Linked DNA regions of Homo sapiens: all the other regions are linked to region 2. Evidence: promoter capture Hi-C in human tissues and cell types (Jung and others, 2019). All regions are on one chromosome and are shown on one strand. The core of a region is centred on a gene start or on the middle of the fragment in contact, and the rest is flanking DNA. Distances in the headings are between cores, read along the strand shown. Region 1 overlaps INPP5A (inositol polyphosphate-5-phosphatase A). Region 2 holds the start of NKX6-2 (NK6 homeobox 2). Region 3 overlaps CFAP46 (cilia and flagella associated protein 46).

Evidence for each region. The method cuts DNA at HindIII sites, captures the fragments that hold promoters and counts their contacts. A contact is called where the count stands out against the background at its distance.
Region 1: a contact is called between a fragment that was not itself captured here and the fragment with the promoter of NKX6-2 in region 2, in 1 of the 25 tissues and cell types used here (aorta).
Region 3: a contact is called between a fragment that was not itself captured here and the fragment with the promoter of NKX6-2 in region 2, in 2 of the 25 tissues and cell types used here (dorsolateral prefrontal cortex and mesendoderm cells).

What each region holds. Positions count from the first base shown.
Region 1 is chr10:132,744,398-132,747,097 of GRCh38, forward strand. All of the region lies in intron 9 of INPP5A (inositol polyphosphate-5-phosphatase A), which reads left to right. Among named protein-coding and RNA genes, the nearest start is that of NKX6-2, 40 kb to the right of the region's middle. RefSeq lists a silencer at 216-397 and an enhancer at 1,314-1,849. The HindIII fragment of the contact is 8,826 bases long and covers 1-2,700 here.
Region 2 is chr10:132,784,857-132,787,556 of GRCh38, forward strand. It overlaps NKX6-2 (NK6 homeobox 2), which reads right to left and starts at 1,291. Exons shown (of 3, transcript NM_177400.3): 1 at 687-1,291; 2 at 424-596; 3 at 1-314. The coding sequence starts at 1,092. The coding sequence ends at 60. The HindIII fragment of the contact is 14,696 bases long and covers 1-2,700 here.
Region 3 is chr10:132,832,329-132,835,028 of GRCh38, forward strand. It overlaps CFAP46 (cilia and flagella associated protein 46), which reads right to left. Exons shown (of 58, transcript NM_001200049.3): 48 at 2,326-2,447; 49 at 1,713-1,795; 50 at 1,030-1,197. Among named protein-coding and RNA genes, the nearest start is that of NKX6-2, 48 kb to the left of the region's middle. The HindIII fragment of the contact is 6,011 bases long and covers 1-2,700 here.

The sequences.
Region 1 (2,700 bases), core at 65-2,564, 40 kb before region 2:
TTCCAGGACCCCCGGGAGGGTGGGACACTGCGGCTCCACCGGTCCCTGTGTCTATGGAATCGGTGTCAGCGGACATCCCGTTCATGGTGGGATATGCCCGTAGGTGTCGGGCAGATGGGGGAGTTTCAATACCGGCTCCTTTAGGGGGTCTCAGTTTGGAGGAAAAAAGCCTTATTTCCTTGATGATGGTTTCATTCCTTAAGAACGCACTAGAATCTGCCCCTTAGTAGCTGCCTGTGGTGTTTCTAGATTCGGGGGCAACGTTGGCTTTGTGGTTCGTTTTTATTTTATTTAACTGTGAACGCCCTTTTACTCCCTGCATTGAGGTGAGACAGAGGACACGGCTCTCAAGGAGAGGAAGAAGTTGTTGGGATTCCCAGGCTTCATGAGGCCGGGCTGTCCCTGAGCCTGAGGCGACCTGCAGGGCTGACTGATTTCTATCCACTGAGGAAGGTTAGGATTCAACCTCAGCCTCACTTTGTGCAGCCGCCATGTTAGACATGCCGCCACAGACCACGGCACCGTTGTCCCTCCCGAAAGTGCTGTCCTGGGCCCGGCGGTGCAGCCCCTGGCAGCTTGCGAGGCCCGGGCTGCCCGCCTCTCCCGTGGCACAGGCTTGGGGACAGGGTGTGCCCGAGCCAGTGGCTGGCTCAGGAGGCCACAGAGGTGCATTTGCCTCTGCTCCAGGCGAGCTTGGGCGGTTCTGGGAGGGCCTGGGGACACAGGGTGACGTGGTGGGAGGGCGCTATGGCCTGTCAGCCTTTGATCTTGGGGCAGGTGGTTCTGCCTGCCTGCCACAGAGGACGGGGTCCTCCATCCCCTCGCGAGCTCCTGGAGGCCACGATGCTCCTGGGGACACCTCCCCTTTGGGAAGGTGAGGGCTGGGGCTGTCCCTGTTGCCAGGCTCTGGCCCTAGGAAGGAGGTTTGTGGCCCCAGTGACTAACGGATTCCCTTGTCTGCCTGGGAGTGTGTTGACCACCAGGGAGTAACCAGGGAACTGGACTCTCCGTGTGGCAGGAGGGGCATCTCCCAGCCTTCGAGCCTGATTGCTTTTCCAGTGCCTGAGCTGCACCCCTGGGATCCCAGCTTTCCCTTCCCGAGTCCGGGCAGCATCTGTGCTGGGCCCTGCTGGGACCTTCCTCCTCATGTGAGGCATGTCACGGCTGGCACTGGCCCCAGCCCGGGCCTCGGGTGTGGTGGGCCCACAGTGTGTCAGACCCTGGGTGTGGTGGGCCTCGGGCGTGGTGGCCTCGGGTGTGGTGGCCCTGGGCATGGTGGGCTTCAGGCATGGTGGCCTCGGGTGTGGTGGGCCCAGGCGTGGTGGGCTTCGGGCGTGGTGGGCCTCAGCTGTGGTGGCCTTGGGTATGGTGGGCCCGGGCATGGTGGGCTTCTGGCGTGGTGGCCTCGGGTGTGGTGGCCCTGGGTATGGTGGGCCTGGGCATGGTGGGCCCGGCCATGGTGGCCTCGGGTGTGGTGGGCCCGGGTGTGGTGGCCCCCGAGGAGGAGTGTGTCCTGGAGAACAGGCGGGTGCGTGAGAGCTCCCAGCTCAGCCACAAGAGCAACACATGCTGCCCACCCAGCCTCGCCTACCCTGCCTACCCTGAGACGCCTTGGCAGGACCTAGAAGCCAAGCCTGGGGTAGGGCCTCGGCGTTGCCTGCACGTGTGCCCAGATGGCTTCTTCGGAGCCCTGAGTGGGCCCCCGAGGCTGTGTGTCCACTTGGCCCAGGCAGGGCGCTCTGGACACCTGGTGATTCCAGGTAGAGAGTGGAGCCCAGGCGCCTGCTGGCTGTGCGTGCGGTGCCTGGAGGCTACAGCCAGCGAGGATTCATTTCAGAGAGTACAGAACAACTTTTTGTTTTTATAAACCAGCTCTTGAAGGTTGCATTTAAAAACTTGGGCTGACAGGGTCTGAGAGGATGTGTTTGCCTTTAGTAGAGTTTTGGATTTTGTGGCAGAGTGTCCGGGACAGTTGAGGGGGTGATGGGACAGATTCAGCTCCCAACGTGAGACCAACTGCACAGGTGCACATTGGGGCGACTCTGCCTGCCATGCAGCTCCGTGCACATCCGAATGACTGCGTTATTTCCTTGCACAGAAAACAGCCTTTCTCCTGGGCTGACACCTGTGCCCTGGGCCTGTGGACGCCCTGTCCAGGCAGCATGCCTCCTTGGTTATCCAAACAGTAAGAAGAAATGCAGGAACTTCGTGATCCACACGCGTGTGGATGACCCTGGCACACAGCGTTCCCGTTAAATTCTAAGTGTGGATAAGACGGCACACCGGACCACTCTTTCCAGAGCCTCTCCTTGCGGCTGCTAATAATGAAATACATCTTAGATGGCTTTTTAAACATAGCATTTAGGGTATTTGTTTCTCCTTTCAAAAGAGAAGAATCCCTTCCCAAAGTAGGCGAGCCGGAAAGGCCCAGCCTGGCCACTTTCCGCATGAGTGGCCACGACTTTGCTGGATTGAAAGGCAAAGGGAACAGGCCAGCTTTGGCCCCTTCAGCCTGGCCTGATCACTCCTTTACAGCCTGTGAATGAGGCAGCTCTGGGGAGGGGTTTGGGGTGGCCGGCCCCTTCCTGGGCTCTGGGGTCCATCAGATGTTTGTCCTTTGGGAGCCTGCCTGAAGTGCTGAGATAAAGCAGTTTTTAAACAGTTTCCCGCAGATGCCTTTTGGGAGACAGAGCCGTGAAT
Region 2 (2,700 bases), core at 41-2,540:
CCCACCCGGGGCCGCCCCCGGATTCTGCAAAAATAGATTCGCCCCCACCCCGCGGGTCCTCACAAGGCGTCCCCCGCGCCGCCGCCGCACGGGCTGACCAGCGCCAAGTTCGAGGGTTTGTGCTTCTTGAGCAGCCGCGTGATCTTCTCGTCGTCCGAGTTGGGGTCCAGGGGCCGGTTGTATTCGTCGTCGTCCTCCGCGTCCGAGCCGCCCACCTTCAGCTTCTCGGCGTCCGAGTCCTGCTTCTTCTTGGCCGACGCCATCTCCACCGCGTGCCGCTTGCGCCACTTGGTCCGGCGGTTCTGGAACCAGACCTGGGAGTGGACGGGGCGGTCAGGCGGCCGCGGGGCCCGGGGCTGGCGCTGGGGCCGTTCGCAGGACGCGGGCCCCCGGCTCTGCTCTCCCGAGCCCCGCCGCGCTCACCTTCACCTGGCTCTCGGTCATGCCCAGCGAGTAGGCGAGACGCGCGCGCTCCGGGCCCGCCAGGTACTTGGTCTGCTCGAAGGTTTTCTCCAGCGCGAAGATCTGCTGGCCCGAGAAGGTCGGGCGCGAGTGCTTCTTCTTCCCGTCCTTGTCCAGGACGCCGCCGGCCGGGGCTGCAAGGGAGGGGAAGGGAGGGAGGTCAGCGGCCGGCGGGGTCCCCCTCCGCGCCCACCCGCCCCGCACCCCCCGCGCGGGCCACTCACCCGGGCCAGCCAGACGCGGGTCCCTCCAGGGCGCGCCCTGCACCACGCCGGGCCAGAAGATGGGCGGGCGCCCCGGCAGCTCGGCCAGGGGCTTGGGGTAGCCGCGCGCCACAGCGGCCGCGGGCCCGAAGTAAACGCCGGCGGACGACGCGAGCCCGTTGAGCCGGGGCAGCCCCCCCAGGAGGCCCCCGCCCGCCGCGCCCACGGGCCGGCCCAGGATGTCGCTGATGCCGTGCGGGGTCCCGAGCGGGAGCTGCGCGCCCAGGCCCCCCAGCGCGGGCGCCTTGAAGCCGGCCGGACCCTGCAGCGCGTAGGGGAACAGCGACGTCTTCATCTCGGCCATGTTGTGCAGCGCGGCCAGCGGGGCACTGCTCAGCACGAACGCGCCCGGGCGGTTAGTGTCCATGGGCGCCGCCGCCGCCGGCCCGGGCTCCCATCCGGGCCCCGCCGCCGCCGCCCCTGCCCGCCGGCCCGGGAAGTTTGCGCGCGGCCCGGGCGGGCGTCGGCTGCAGCGCGGGGCGCGGGGCGCGGGGGGCGGGCGGGCGGCTCCGGCGCGGGGCGGGCGGGCGGGCGGCGGCGGCGGCGGCTCCGGGGCCGGTCGGAGCGGCGCCGCGCGGGACGGACGCGCTGATAACGGGGGCTCCCCGGGGCGCGGCGCGCGCGCTGATTGGCTGCGGACCCCGCGGTCCGGCCATTGGCCGGCGCCCCCCCCCCGCCCGCGCGCCCCCGCCGGCCGCGCACTCCATGAAGGGCCCATTAGCGCGGCAGGTGCCTCCCGGGCTGTAAATTCGCCCCGATTTATCTCCCCGGGGACGAAATAAATCCAGCTTGGATGGGAGTGTAGTTAGGCAAAGGTTTTCATGCGAAATCAGGAAAAAATACGAGAACGTATTTTATTAACGGAAAGAATGCAGATTTGAGGACCCGCCCGCGCGCTCGGAGCGCCCCACTCGGGGAAGAGTCCCGGCCCGCGTCCCAGTCGCGACTGCTCCGCCGCCCGTGGCTGGGGTGGGTGTGAGCGGCAGCGGACGCCGGCGGGGAACGCGCTCCGGGCAGGTCGGGGCCACAGGAGGGCGGAGGACGCGGGCCTCGAGTCCACGGAATCCACGGGCCTCACGGCCGGGCGAGGCTCGCACGGAGCTGCCTCTGGTTTCGCCGACACGCGGCCGGCGCGGTGGAGGAGTGAGGCAGGCGGGAGCGGGGCGGGGAGGCGGGTCCCGGGACCACACGCGCGGCTCGGCACTTCCCCGTCATCGGCCTCCAGGTCTCCCGCTGGGGGTCCCCCAGGATGTGACCTGGGCCCACGACTTCGCCCACGGGCCGCCTCTCGCGAATCCCCGGCCGGGAGAACAGAGACCAGGACGGCCTCAGCGCGGAAGCCCTGTCCAGGGCCCGAACGTGGGTGCGGGCTGGGGGCGCAGCGGCAGAAACGCGGCCTTAGACGCGCGCGGGGGGCCGGTGTCCCCCCCGCCCCCACGGCACCGGGAGCCGCTCGCTCATCCATCCCGCAGACCGGGCGGTGAGATGACTCCGAGCCCCGCGCACGGCGGCCGCGAGCAAACGCTCCGACGTCTGTGGTGACGTCTCGTATTGATTTAGGGACACGGGGCGGCTGTGGCTGTGGCCCACGGCTCGTGGGGAGCCCGAGTCTGTGCGCAGGGAACGCCGCTGCGTGGCCTCTCTCGGGCCTGTGCCGCGGAGGAAGGCGGCGCCCGGGGTTCGGGGCCGGGGTCTCACGTCCGCCCCCTCGCCCCCCTCCAGCGTCCGTTTTCGTTTTGTGCAGGTCGAGGCGGGGACTTGGCGCCGTCGGCCGCTCCTGGATGGCGGCTTGGAAAAGCCACCTGCGGCCAAACTCCGGGGCAGTGGTGCGGCCGCCGGGTGTGTGCGCGCTCGGGGCTGCCCCGGCGGCTTCCGGCTCCACTGAGGTGCAGCCCCGCGTTCACGGGGGGTTCGCTTCCCCCGTCGACTCCGCACTCGATTCGACTGGGATTGGGATTCGATTGGGCGCGGCCGC
Region 3 (2,700 bases), core at 21-2,520, 47 kb after region 2:
CAGTTTCCCAGACTCCAAACTGTCTGTCCTCAACTTGCGGAGACCCCTGGGCTCTTCCTGCCCCCCCCCCCCAATGCTGTGGCCTGGAAATTCCCCAGAGAGTAAGACCTGGGTGGGCCATGGCGCTCGCCAGCCAAACCCCCTTCGAGGCCCCCCGTCCTGCGCGGACTGCTCGTCAATGTTTGAAAACCCTCATTTCATGTGCTTTTCTCTGGTTTTTATTTGTCTCAGCTGGAAGAACGAATCTGGTCCCTGTTACTTCATCTGAGATGGAAGCAAAAGTCCAATCGATTTATTTTTAATTTTATTTGATACCGAAGTGCAGAAAACTGCACGTACCGCAAGGGTAGCGCTCGGGGAAGCTTCACAACCGGGGCACGTCTGCACAGCCAGCACTCAGTCACAGAATGTCATCACCCCCGAATCCCAGCCGAGGTCAGGGCCTTCCGCGCGCTCCCTCGTGCTTTTCACTGTCTGAGTGATTAACGGAGAGGCTGGCTGTTTACTACACATCTGGTCCCCTCCTTTGAAACAGGTATTTGTGGGGGCAAGAACAGCGTTAAGTTTGTCTTCCCTGTGTGTTTAGCACCAGGATACTGGCACATAGCAGGTATTTTATAAATAGTTTTGAGTGTTTATATATATACATATATATTTTATTTTTGACAGGGTCTCACTCTGTTGCCCAGGCTGGAGTGCAGTGGCGCCATCTCAGCTCCCCAAAGCCTCAGTCTCCCAGGCTCAAACCATCCTCCCACCTCCCAGCCTCCTGAGTAGCCAGGACCACAGGTGCACACCACCATGCCCAGCTAATTTTAAACTTTCTTGTAGAGATGCACTCTCACCATGTTGCCCAGGCTGGTGAGTATTTATATCCTACAAATATCTTTGAATGAATAAATGCCTAGAAAAATGTTGCAACATTTGATGATTATTTCTTGATAGGAGCTAACATTGTTTCATCTGAAAAATAATTTAAATATTTCCATTTTAAAATTACACATTAAGGTGGCTGAGGGCAGTTCCTACCTGTCTCTTCTTTATGGAGGCGATTCCACAGCATTTGAAGAGAAAATTCTCGTGACACAGAGGAAATTGTCCCTTCATCGAACACAGAGAGACCTTCCAGTGGCAGCTCCAGGAGATGTCTGTCTGCGACCAGGACTATCTTATCGGCAACCTCAGGCTGGACTGTGCCTGGGAAACAGCAGTGCAGGGAGATCAGCTCCTGAAGACGGGACCCCTCCCACGGGGTCGCAGGGCTCCGTCTTCTGACTTGGCTGCTGGGCGCTGGGAAAGGCTGGCAGCCCGCCTTGACTCCATGCCACCTCCTCCTCCAGATGCCCCAGAACGGGGCGAGGAACAGCCTCCCATCACGCCTGTCCCTCCACACGATTCTTTTTGTTAGCAAGCACGTGTGGTGTGGCGGGGCTGACAATCCACCCACGCGAAGGTGGCTGTGCTGGGTTCCGTGGTGCTCTCAGGAGGCTTGGCACAGAGCCTCCTACCCAGAGGGCTGGTCCAGGGCTGTGCAGAGAACCTTCCGGGGACCTCAGGCGCAGGGAGGCCTCAGGGGAAGGAGCAGCAGGGCTTGTGGGACTCCTGGGTTCCTGACCCCCCCTGGCGTTCCCGGATGGGTGGGTGGATCCCAACCCCACCTCTTCTGGCGGGATGAGCTCCCCAGGCTGAGTGGCCACGCCCGCCCCACTCACTGTGTTGTCCTGTGGACGTTTTCCTCTCCTTGTCTTTGCCCTTCGACTTCCCTGAATCGGCAACAACCGCAGGTGTCTGCACTCTGAAAGTCAGGTTATATATTCGGGTTTAAGAAACAGAGATAACAAACGCTTGGAATATAGGCGACACCTGCTCAGCCTGTTTCACTCTAAGGCAGCAGCACCACGAATCCCCACGCTCACTTCTGGGGATGGTCCCACTGAGGTGGGGCCGGGATGAGCCACAGGATTTTGGGATCATCTCTGATCCACCAGCCAAGCTAAACGGTGCCAGGTGTCCGTCCCCTCTGCCTTCCTTCCCACCCCAAATCAAAGCAGCCCGGGCGGTCCCTTGGAGGTGCTTGCCCTCCCACCCCACACTTGGGCCAGGGGCTGGAGGGACCGTGGGCAGTGGGCAGTGGGCAGTACTCCTCCAGGCAGGAATGGAGGCAGAACCAGAAGAATTGCTTCCTGGGAGCAGGCAGGCGGCGCCGAGTCCTGAACAAAGGCGGCCGAGAAGGCACAGCAAGCACACGTGGTTGGCCACAGCACTGGACACACGTGTCCATGCGTGAGCGTGGTGGGGTGCCAGCCTCAACGTCATCCCCAGTACCTGGCCTTGGAGAGGCTGAGCAGGGGGAATAGCGGCTGCAGAAGCTCCTCCAGGGGCCCCAGGACGCTACTGAGCCTCTGCACAGGGCGCTCCTTCTCTTCCACCTGCAGGCCTTCTGGTTCCTACCGCAATCCAAAAAAGAGGCCCCCGTAGCAAACAGGGCGCATGGCCCAGACCCCGCGAGGGCCAGGCCCCTGCAGAAAGGCCGAGCTCCTGCCCCTTCTGCAAACAGCATGGTGGACAAGGGCACCTGGCTCGGCAACGAGGGCCCCATAGCACCTGGCCCATCCTCTGGAGGGTCACCCTGAGACCCCAGCCCCCACCCATCTCCTCTGCCCGCACCACGGAGGGTCCTGCCTGTGGGGACAGCCGGGC